Regions from separate parts of the Homo sapiens genome. Here region 1 is linked to region 2. The links are contacts of gene promoters, found by promoter capture Hi-C in blood cells and fetal thymus (Javierre and others, 2016). All regions are on one chromosome and are shown on one strand. The core of a region is centred on a gene start or on the middle of the fragment in contact, and the rest is flanking DNA. Distances in the headings are between cores, read along the strand shown. Region 1 holds the start of BRSK1 (BR serine/threonine kinase 1). Region 2 overlaps LENG8 (leukocyte receptor cluster member 8).

Evidence for each region. Contacts are between HindIII fragments. The CHiCAGO score rates a contact against its expected background, and 5 or more counts as called.
Region 1: the fragment with the promoter of BRSK1 here is called in contact with a fragment that was not itself captured in region 2 in 1 of 17 cell types (naive CD4 T cells); the score reaches 5.7 in naive CD4 T cells.

What each region holds. Positions count from the first base shown.
Region 1 is chr19:55,280,894-55,287,162 of GRCh38, reverse strand. It overlaps BRSK1 (BR serine/threonine kinase 1), which reads right to left and starts at 3,166. Exons shown (of 19, transcript NM_032430.2): 1 at 2,585-3,166; 2 at 62-156. The coding sequence starts at 2,720. The HindIII fragment of the contact is 8,428 bases long and covers 1-3,872 here.
Region 2 is chr19:54,454,362-54,459,810 of GRCh38, reverse strand. LENG8 (leukocyte receptor cluster member 8) reads right to left here. Exons shown (of 16, transcript NM_052925.4): 6 at 5,129-5,381; 7 at 4,719-4,860; 8 at 4,244-4,447; 9 at 3,566-3,844; 10 at 3,346-3,486; 11 at 2,890-3,175; 12 at 1,963-2,064; 13 at 1,809-1,877; 14 at 1,579-1,708; 15 at 1,290-1,497. Among named protein-coding and RNA genes, the nearest start is that of LENG9, 6.7 kb to the left of the region's middle. The HindIII fragment of the contact is 6,641 bases long and covers 1-5,449 here.

The DNA.
Region 1 (6,269 bases), core at 1,917-4,416, 830 kb before region 2:
CCCCTGCCCTCAGCCCCGGAGGCCCCCCCACCCGCAGGCACACTGCAGCAGGCGCACACACCTTCATCAGCACCGACTCCGACAGCTTCTCCCGGTTCACGATCTTGATGGCGACCTTCTGACCCGTGATGCAGTGGACCCCGAGTTTAACCAGCCCTGCAGGAGCAGGGTGAAAATGTGGGGTGTTCCGCCGGGTCCCCTTCGTCCCCAGCGCCTATGTCCCCCCTTGGCCACCCTGTTTGCTCCTTCCTCCTGGGCTGGCTGTTTAACAATGGCCTGAACACATCAGACCTGAACTCCTGGGGCTGAGAGCCCACACTCCCACAAAACCACCCTTCCCCTCCCTCCTGCCAGTCCGTTCCTCCTGACTGTCCATCCAGCCAGGTGCCCCTCTCCTCTGCCAGCCACCCCCTGGCCCTCACCCTCTCCGTCCTGGGGAGCCCGCCTGCCACGCATTCTTTCCTCACCGTGTCTCCCCGAGTCTGTCTCCTCCAAGCCCCCGCCCCCCCACTTTCTCTGTCTCTCTCCATCAATTCCTTGTATTCTCTGCTTTTCAATCTTTTGGAGACCCTATGACTCCCAACGAATATAGTCTCACATTTGCCCCCTCCCCAGACCACCCTCCACCTCCTCCTGAATCCCCTCCCAGTGAATATAATCTCACATTTGCCCCTCCCCAGATCACCCTCCACCTTCTCCTGAACCCCCAGCCTCAACTGCCTTCCTGGGTCTTCTCTTCATGGCAGCCCTAACAGACAGCACACAGACACCAAGGGTATGTCCGGTCTCCTAGCCCACACCTCTCCTCAGGACCCTCGACTCCAGGACCTGAGCCCCCAAAGCCACAGACCTAGCCCTGACTAGCCCCTAAAGCTGCAGGCCCAGGCGTCCAGACCCCCAGCCCCTCCTCCCTCAGACCCAGGAGTCCAGGCCCCCATTCCATCCTCCCTCAGACCCAGGAGTCCAGACCCCAGCCCCTCCTCCCTCAGACCCAGGAATCCAGCCCCCCCAGCCCCTTCCTCCCTCAGACCCAGCACTCCAGGCCCCCAGCCCCTCCTCCCTCAGACCCAGCACTCCAGGCCCCCAGCCCCTCCTCCCTCAGACCCAGCACTCCAGACCCCCAGCCCCTCCTCCCTTAGACTCAGCACTCCAGACCCCCAGTTCCTCCTCCCTCAGACCCAGCACTCCAGGCCCAGCCCCTCCTCCCTCAGACCCAGTCCAGGTCTGACCCCTTCTTCTCCTGTAACTCAGGAATTCAGGTCAGCAACACCTTCACACTCTTACCACTCAGGATCTGGGACTTTGACCCTCTCCTTTTCCCTAGGGTCTCAGCTCCCAGTTACGGCCCAGTCGGTCCCCACTCCTGCCAGCTCTGGCCCTGAGCTTCATAGAGACTCTGGGCGTTCAGCTCCCATGTCACCTCCACCCACCATCCATCCGGCAGGAAGGAGGCCGCGGCCGGTGGCCAGCGTTCAGCAACAGCAGAGGATGAACGCCCTTTCCACAGCCGCTCCAGGAGACGCGCCTGCTGCAGCCCACCTTCCCACCCTCCATCCTGTTTCCCACTCTGAGCCAGCATGCCAGAGAAGGGGAGAATGTCTTAGGCCCCACGGCCCCTGTCACCCCAACCTGCTGCCTGGAGAACTGGAGGCCAGAGGACAGTGGGGAGGGAAGAGGTTTCCCAGGATGGATGCACTGCACCCCGGTCTGCAGCTGTACTGCAGCAAGAACCTCAGGTCCCAGCCCGGCCCCACTCTGCAGGCCGCCTCCATCCCCTCCCTGGCCCTGGAGCCCCTCCAGCCTCTGCCCCTATGGGGACTGGAGCACTGGGGCCCCAAACTCCCTGTCCCAACACTCAAGGTTCCGACCGCCCTCCTCCCTCAGACTCAGGAGTCCAGGCCCCCAGCCCCTCCTCCTTCAGACCCAGGAGTTCAGCACCCCTGCCCCTCCTCCCTCAGACCCAGGAGTCCAGACCCCAGACCCTCTTCCTTCATACTCAGGAGTCCAGGCCCCCAGGCCCTCCTCCCTCAGACCTGAAAGTCCAGGACCGCAGTCCCTCCTCCCTCAAACCCAAAAGTCCAGGACCCCAGTCCCCTCCTCCCTCAGACCCAGAAGTCCAGACCCCCAGCCCCTCCTCCCTCAGACCCTGGAGTCCAGGCCCCCAAGCCCTTCTCCTTCAGACCCAGGAGTGCAGGCCACCAGCCTCTCCTCCCTCAGACTCCGGAGTCCAAGCACAGCCCCTCCTCCCTGAAACCCAGGAGTCCAGACCCCCAGGCCCTCCTCCCTGAAACCCAGGAGTCCAGGCCCCCAGGCCCTCCTCCCTCAGACCTAGGAGTCCAGTGCCCAGCCCCTCCTCCCTCAGACCCAGGAGTCCAGGCCCCCAGCCCCTCTCCTCCAGGACCTGAGTCTGCGCCCCCCACCCCCTCCATCCAGGGACCCAGGAGTCTGAATCCCAAGTCCCTTCTCTATGAGGGGCCCAGGGGTCTGGGCAGCCAGCCCCTGCCATTTGAATACCCTGAGTCCCGCCTCTGCCGCCACCTCCACCCTGCCCCCCGCCCCAGGTGTCCCCTTCTGCTAGGCTCACCTGTCTGTCCTTTGCCCAGCGTCTTCTCCAGCCGATAGGGGCCCACATATTGGGCGTGCTGGGGTGGGTGGGGGTGGGGGTGGGGGAGGTGGTAGGCGGGAGAGCCCCCACCTCCCTCCTTGGCCCCGGACGACATGGTGCCCTTGGTCCCGGCCCGACCGGTCCCCCGGCCGCCCCCCCTGCGGCCGTCGCCCCGTCTCTCCGGTGGGGGCCGGCGACCGCTCCGTCCCGGCCCCCCCGGCTGCCCCCCACCTCTCCGGGGGTCCCCAGGGGGCTGGGCTGGCCCCCCCCAGTCGGCGGGCCGCGGAGCTGGGGGAGGGGGGGCTGGCCCGGGGGGGTCAGGCCCCGGGAGTCAGCATGGCCCAGGGGGGCTGCGGGGCCCCCCCTCCCCAGCCCGTTTCTGGCCGGCCCCCCGCTTCCTGCGCCTCCCCCCGCCGGGGGGGTCTGAGGTGCGGGCCGGCGGATGCTGCAGGCCGAGGTCCCCCCCGCCCCCCCACGCGCCCTCTCTCCTCCGCCTCCTCCTCCTCTCCGCCTCCCCCCGCCACCTCGTCCTTTCTCTCCGGCACGCTGACATCACCATCCGGGGACTCCGGGCCCTTCCCCAAAGTTAACCCTTTCGGAGGGGGGAGGGGGAGCGAGGGGGGGCAGGGGGCGGGCCTCCAGCTGGAGGGATGGAGAGGAGGTGGGAGGATGCAGGAGAGAGGATGGAGGGAAGGATGGAGAGAGAGAGAGAGGACCCAACAGATGGGGCAGAGATGGAGATACACAAAGAGAGATGCTGGCTGACACAGAGACGGGAGACAGGCAGAGACGCCAGAGGGATGGAGACCACCAGAGACAGGCTGAGGCAGAGAGGGAGGAAGGGCAGAGATGGACAGGGACAGAAGAGAAGGAAGGAATGGCAAGCCGGGAAAACAGACAGGGAGAGGGAGAGAAAGCTGCTGGAAGCCGACAGAGGGATGGAGAGAGTCAGAGATTCAGAGAGACAGAGAGAGGAAGACCAACCAGAGAGGTGGGGGAGAGGGGGCGCAGATGGAGCTGTAGAGAGGGCCGGGGGTACACACAGGTGGAGGGACACGTGCTGGGGAGAGGTGGGGACATATGGAGGGAGACAGAGACAGAGAGGGGAAAGAATTCTTGGAGTTGCTGACCCAAAATTCATGTCTGTTTCCCCAGCCCCCTAAGGCCACCCATTCAGGGTAAGGGTAAGTCTGTGTCCCCACCAATGTCAAGGCCCCATATCTACCCACAGCCCAGAGTGATTTTGGATTCTCTTTACAGAGAAGCTTCCAGAACCCCCTCAGTTTCCCTGTGTTATGTTTTTAGACCCCCATATATTCTCTGTGCTCGTCATAGGGTCCTTTATATCTTCATGTGGACCCCAGTACAGCCCATACATCCCCACTGTAGCAGGTCCACAAGCATGTGCTCTGCCTGTGAGTAACCCGCCTGCCCCCATTAGCTTTCCGCATAAACCATAGATCCCTCTATGTCATGTACCCGCAAGTGTTAGACACCCATTTAATTCTCAAGTCCCCTGTAAAGCACACCCAGGGCTGGGCAAGGTGGCTCATGCCTGTAATCCCAATACTTTGGGAGACAGAGGTGGGAAGATCAGCCTGGGCAACACAGTGAGACCCCATCCCTACAAAAATTTTTTTAAAAATTAGCCGGGCATGGTGGCATGTGCCTGTAGTCCCAGCTACTTGGGAGGCTGAGGCTTGAGTCAGTGAGTTCTAGGCTGCAGTGAGCTACGTTTGCACCACTGCACTCCAGCCTGAGCAACAGAGTGAGGCCCTGTCTCTAACAAAAATAAAATAAAATAAAGTGCACACAGGAGCCTATTGGCTCCTGTGAGATTTCCCAGTCCCCCATTCAACACCTTGAGTCCACACATCTTTAATGAGTGCCAAATCTCAGCCAGGCACTGTTCCTGTTGGTAAGAACGTGGCAGTGACCTAAATCAGCAAAAAGGCCTGTCCTGTGGAGCTTCCATGCTGGTGGATGAAACAGATGATCAGCAAGGTCAATAGGCAAAATGTATGGTGTGTTAGATAATCATGTCCGTGCTGAGGAGGTGACTACAGCAGGGAAGGGGGTTAAGAGGGGCCTGTTGAGCAGGGTACAATTTTAGGCGTCCGGCTTTTTTTGTATTTTTAGTAGAGATGGAGTTTCACCCTGTTAGCCAGGCTGGTTCTGTAGCCTTTTTTTTTTTTTTTTTTTTTTTTTTTTTTTTTTTTTGAGACGGAATCTTGCTCTGTCTCCCAGGCTGGAGTGCAGTGGCACAATCTCAGCTCACTACAACCTCCACATCCTGGGTTCAAGCGATTCTCCTGCCTCAGCCTCCCGAGTAGCTGGGATTATAGGCACCCGCCACCATGCCTGGCTAATTTTTGTATTTTTAGTAGAGATGGGGTTTCACCATGTTGGTCAGGCTGGTCTCAAACTCCTGACCTTGTGATTTGCCCACCTCAGCTTCCCAAAGTGCTGGGATTACAGGCGTGAGCTACCACACCTGGCCTGGTTCTGTAACTATTGAGTCCCTTTTTGCTCTCAAATGTCTTGCTATAGATGAAAAATTATATGATCACCCTCTTTTTTTTGTTTTGTTTTGTTTTTTGAGACAGGGTCTTCCCCCTGTTGCCTAGGCTGGGGTGCAGTAGGGCAGTCATAGTTCCCTGCAGCCTCGACCTCCTGGGCTCAAGTGATCCTCCTGCCTCAGCCTCCTGCCTAGCTGTGATATAAGCAGATGCCATCACACATGGCTAATTCTTGTATTTTTTTGTAGGGCTGGGGACACACTATGTTGCCCAGGCTGGTCTCGAGCTCTTGGGTTCAAGTGATCCTCCCACCTTGGCCTCCCAAAGTACTGAGATTATAGACCTGAGCCACTGCCCCCGGCCATGTATTATAAACTGATAGACTTGTACATAGATGTCCGTGTCCTAATTCCCAGGATCTGTGCATAAGTTACCTTGCATGGCTGAAGGGACTTTGCCCATGTGACTGAGATAGGGAGATTATCCCAGTTATTTGGGTGAGCTCGATGGAATCACAAGAGTATTTGTGAGAAGGAGGCAGGAGGAGCAGTCAGTGATGGAGATGGGAAGGTGGAAGCAGAACTTGGGGTGATGGGGCCACCTGTCAAAGAAAGAGTGTGGCCTCTAGAAGCTGGAAAAGGCAAGAAAAACATTCTCCCCGAGAGCCTCCAGAAGTGATGCAATCCTGCTGACAGTTTGATTTCAGCCCCGTGAAACCCATTTTGGATTTCTGCCCTCCATAACTGCAAGATAATAAATGTGTGCTGTTTTAAGCCACCACATTCTTAGTAATTTGTTAACAGCAGCAATAGGAAACTAATATAATAGCACATCCACAGGCCCAGATGCATCTCACAGCACAGTGCTAGAAACACCACACACACACACACACACACACACACACACACATACACACACAACCTATCTGTTTGGTCTTCCTGTTTCTGCCCAAAATATCCCCCTGCACAACCACGCCCAGCAGGTGATTGATACGTTTGTGACTGTGTGCCCGTTTTGCGTTGAGCACAACCTTTTCCTGGAGGAAAACGCCTCCTATCCAGGATCAACACGGGAGTTTCTTTAAGCCCAGCCCAGGGCCAACACCTCTGCAGATCGGCCCGCACCAGCACGTGCCCAGGCCTAAA
Region 2 (5,449 bases), core at 1,981-4,480:
CTCTGTGCACGGCACCCCACATCCTCGTCTGCTCCTGTGACTCCTACCCTGGCTCAGCCTCTCCCTGAAGTTGGCTTGACCCACACTAGATTCCAGAATGAGTCTCCAAACCTCCAGGCTGACAGTCCCTCCCTAGCTCCAAACTATGCTGTGACCATGACCTCACACGGAGGGCCACCTGGCCAGGCTCTCAAGGCCTCCATGCTGTGACCATGACCTCACGTGGAGGGCCACCTGGCCAGGCTCTCAAGGCCCCCATGCTGTGACCACAACCTCACGTGGAGGGCCACCTGGCCAGGCTCTCAAGGCCTCCATGCTGTGACCATGACCTCACGTGGAGGGCCACCTGGCCAGGCACTCAAGGCCCCCATGCTGTGACCATGACCTCACGTGGAGGGCCACCTGGCCAGGCTCTCAAGGCCTCCATGCTGTGACTATGACCTCACGTGGACAGCCACCTGGCCAGGCTCTCAAGGCCTCTTCAGTCTACCGGTCAACCTCTTCGACCAGAATTTCTCCACCTTGGCAAGACTGAGCTCTGAGGCCCAATGGCAGTGGCAGGGCAGCATCCCTGGCCTCCACTCACTAGATGCCAAGAGCATCCCCTTGCTGTGACAAGCGAAAACCTCTCTTGACATTGCCCAGCGTCGCCTGGGCACCTCAATCACCAGACAGAACCATGCGTCTAAACATGAGTCAAGCAACTCATCCCCACCCACAGCAAGCCAGGCGCAATGTCTAGTGAACGAAGGACACTGCAGGGGCATGGCCTGACCAGGGGCCTCTGGCACCGCGCCCAGTGTGGCCTCAACACAGGTGTCTCCCTAAGCGTTTCTGGTGCTCTCAAAGGAGCTGAGTGGGACTGGGCCTTGTCCTGGTAGACCAGAGGCTGTCTAGATGGTCTCTATGGTGGGAGCACAGCGACAAGCTGAGAAAGCAGAGACCTCAGGGTTCTGAGGAAGCCCAGGGCAAGGAGTGAACTAGGGGGTCCAGGCAGGAGAGAACAGGAGGAAGAGACACACAGATGGGGTGGAGAAGAGGCCCCAGAGGCAGTGAGCTGGGAACAGTGGGGAGAGGGAGAGGAGTGACCCGGAACACAGAGGTGACCAACAAGGAGAGCAAGAGGAACTGGAGAGGGGAGGGCTGAATGGAGAAAGATGATGGGGAAGCAAGGACCAGGACAAGGGTTGGGGGCTGGGGGAGGCCTGCGGCCAGGAGCTGGTCTGAGGGGCGGTGCGAGGCGGAAGGATGGGAAGAGCAAAGGCAGAAGGGAGCTTGGCACCACATACGTTTTGATCATGGCCTTGAGGGCGACCTTGCGCTCCCGATCTGCAAACTTGTCCACGAGGTAGCCAGACATGCAGGGTGCATGGCAGTAGAGCCGGAAAAAGCGGTGGTAGTTGCCCAGGGCCCAGGCTGTCCTTAATGCCAAGGCGTGGGCCACGCAAGGATCTGCCTTCAGTTCTCGTGTGAGGTATGCCAGCTCCGTGGTGATGTCTAGCACCAAGACAAAGAGGGTGAAGTCAGCAGGGCTCAACCCTGGGTACCATGGCCTCTGTCCTGGGGACTGGGCCTCACCTCCCGAGTTCTTGGTGAAGATGTAGTAGAGGATTCGGTAGGCAGTAAACTCGCCCACATTGCCAGGCAAGTTCTCGGCGTACAGCGACTTGAGCTGCGTCTGGCACTGGTTAAACTCTTCATGGTCACCCTGGAAGGCAGAGGCACCGAGGGAGGAGAGCAGAGTGAGGGTGCTGAGGGCAGAACGGCAGCAGGAAAGGGGCTGGGGAGGCCCGCAGAGGCCAGCTCACCTTCTCCAAGGCGATCCGGGCATGGGTCTCGTACACCTCCACCGTGAACTCGGTGCGGATGCCCTGCACCTGGGGCAGCGGGGCGAGAACAAGAGTCACAAGGAGCGGGAGGCAGGACTGGCTGAGGCCAGGCCCCTCCCAGCGCGAGTCTCACCGTCAGATCCTGCCGGATCGACTTCATCTGCTCGCAGGCAAACGCGTAGTCCTGCTTCTCTTTCCAGTGGCACTTGACCATGCACAGCGACTTTTTCAAAACCTGAAAAAGGGAACTGAATTCACACTCGGAGTACAACTCAGGTAGCGTGGCCAACGGCTTCCACTTATTTGGTGGGAGAGTTGCAACATTAAAAAAAGAAAAAAAAGGCCAGGCGCAGTGGCTCACGCCTGTAATCCCAGCACTTTGGGAGGCCGAGGTGTGTGGATCATCTGAGGTCAGGAGTTTGAGACCAACCTGGCCAACATGGTGAAACCCCGTCTCTACTAAAAATACAAAAATCAGCCAGGCGTAGTGGCAGACGCCTGTAATCCCAGCCACTAGGGAGGCTGAGGCAGGAGAATCGCTTGAAGCCGGGGAGCGGAGGCTGCGGTGAGCCAAGATCACGCCATTGCACTCCAGCTTGGGCGACAGAGCCAGACTCTCTCCCAAAAAAAGAGAAAACAAACCCACAAGACATGGGTTAAGAGTGGCCACCTCCACACCCATTTCCCTATAAGCACATGGCTGTTCACAGGTTCTGCAGCAGAACAGTGACTACGCCAAACACTGGAAACACAGCCCCCCACGCCCCACAGCCCACGGGCCTGGGAGAAGGCTTTATGCTCCGTGTCACCTAAGCCAGGAACCACGGCCCAGAGGTCAAGCGATTCGCCGGCCAAGCTGCACACCCGCCACGCGGGGCTCCAGGGCAGCAGAGCGCCTTTGCGCTCCTCTCAGAATGCCGACCAGCCGAGGCGTCTCTGGCCGAGCTTCCCCTGCCATACCAGAGCCCCCGTGTGGCCTCTGCCACCCTCCCTGGGTTGGCTCCCCAAGTCCTGAGCCAGCACGGCCTCACAGAGCAGAACTGCCCTGCTGGGCACTTACTGCCACAGGGCGCACGGTGGACGGGTCGGGGGCACAGGTGAGGCGCAGGTAGTGCTTGGTGATGTCAGGGCAGGTGCCCACGATCTGCAGCTCCTGCCAGTCAGGGTCAGCCCCACTGCTCTCCAGGCTGCTCATCTGCAGCACCAGGGGCTCGAGGCGCAGGCGGCGGGAGTGTCCGTGCTGGAAGCGGGCTGCCCGCTTCTGCTTCTTCAGCTCTCGCTCCGGGTCCTCACACTCCAGCGCCGCCATCTTCTTTCGACTGCGCTTGGTGGGCGCCAGATCGTGCCTAGGAAGGGATGAGGGGCAGTGAGCGCGACAGGCGTCTCCAGCCCCCCTTCAGCCTCGCCCCTTTGGCAGCTGGCTGTCCACCTGTCCGGCCCTCCTCCTCCTTCTCCCATGGGTCCCCAGTACCCTCCTCCACCCTGGCCCGTGTGTCGAGCCCTCACACAGTCTCACCTCTTCCCACGCTGCGCCCTGCCTCGGCCCCGATCCATATGGGCCCCTCGACCGCCCCGGCCCTTAGGGGGCGGGTTCCTGCGGCCCACAGGGTGACACTCATTCCCTGAGTAGGAGCTGTCGGAGTCTGAGTGGGAGTCACTGCAGGAAGAAGCAGGAGGGTCAGGCCTGAAACGCCTCCCCCTCCCTCACACACAGCCCCAGCCGGGAGCCTCAGTACCTTCTGCGGAAGTGGCGCGTCGGGGACCTGGAGGAGGAGCGGGAGCGGGAGTCTGTGCTGGAAGAAGAGCTGTTGTCCTTCATGAAGACGTTGCGGTTGCCAAACTTGGTGAAGCTGTTGCCCCGGGCTCGACCGGCACCCCCAGCCCCGGGCGTCCCTCGCTGGGACGGGGCACCCCCGCCCCTTGTCGCCGAGCCTGCCCCTCTAGGAGGGTGAAGGCTGCTAGCGGCCTCCCACCGCTTCTTCTTAGGGCTCTCAGCCACAGGCTCCCGGGTCAGCCTGAGAATACAGCAGGGCAGGGCGTCACCAACCCCGCCAGACACTGGCAGGACAGCCGCCACCACCTCCCTCAAGGTACCGACCCGCCTCCGAAAGGAAAGGCACTTACCCCAGGCGGCTCAGCTACTACAGTGCAGAAATGAGACGCGAACCCAGGTTTTCCGTCTCCAGAGGGTGCGCTTAACCACTGAGCAATGCACGCCTCTCCAGCACCCATGGTCCCCACCCCACCCCACCGGCCTCCCTCCAACCAGGACTTCATCCCCCCAGGATCCAACTTTCCAGTTCATTTCTCTTTGGAGCTCCTGGTACCTGGGACCCGCAACTCTCCTACCTCCATACCCAGCCCATGCCTCTCACAGCACCACCCTCCCACCTATGTCCCCCACCCAGACTAACCCCGGCAAGGGCTCCCGGCTCCAGTCAATGGTATAGGCCGAGCCGTCCTGCAGCCGCGCCTGCAGCACCTCCTTGAGCAGCTTTTCCGTGCGGTCCTTGTCCTCCTCCGACTCACAGGCGGTGAAGCAGCGCTCCACATACTCTTTCATGTCCTGGGGCCAGTCATCCGGCTTCCCAGACAGGTTCCCCCGGGCAGAGGACCCGCTGCGGGAGGACAGATGAGGGGCTCAGCTGGAGACGATCCCAAACTCAAAAGACCATCCCCACCGCCACTCTGAGCTGACACAGCGGGACGCAGTCCCCAAGTTTTCCTTCTGTCTCCTTCAGTGCTCACAGCAACCCCCAAGAGAGGGTCCTTCTGCCCTTTTCAGAGGCGCACACTGAGGCTCAGGGTGGGCAGCTGGCCAGTGGGACTGGACCATAGACGCTGAGTGCAGAGTGTGGGGCTGCGACGGGGCAAGGGGGCAGACGTCACCTGTGGTTCTGAACTTTCTCAGGGTTGGGCTGGGGGCCAAAACCACTGTGCTGGCCCTCTGCGTTGGAGCCAAAGCTCTGGGTGGTAACAGCAAAGGGTCGCTTCTGGATGTTGAACTTGAGACCTCCAGTCCCAGGGGCGGCTGTGAGGGCAGCGAAAGCTATGGTTAGGCCCTTCCCCGGCACATCCAGGGGTCCCCAGGGGACGGGAGGAAGTGGAAATGCAGGGAGGAGCGCTCAGGTTCTAGAGGAGGGCTCCAGCACACATGTGCCTGGTCCAGAGCAGCCCCACCCCCAGCCTGGCGATCACAACACCCAGAAACAAGGAGCAGCACACACCACGGGCCTCACACCCAGGAGCTCTTATGAGGGCCCAACCGCTCGGACCTCCACGTAGCTCTGCCAACTTACGTTTCATGCGGTTCCACAGCTGTTGGCCCTTCTTGGGCTTGGCAGGTTCGGTGTAGGTGTGTGGCCCATAGGCCTGGCCCGTGGCGGGCCCCGCCTGGCTGTGCTGTGTGGCTGGAGCTGTCCCAGGCTGAGGGCCACTGTTCAGCGTGTGAGCCCCATGTGGGGGATTTGAGGGCTGAGGGGGCTGAGCCGACGGCAGCTGCTGAGGGGGAGCCTGGTAGGACATGCTCTCATCCATGCCGGGGACTGGGGGCTGCAGAAGGAAGCAGGCGCTGAGCACGGGAGGCAGATTCTGGGGCTGGCGAGTGGCACTCAGCCCTC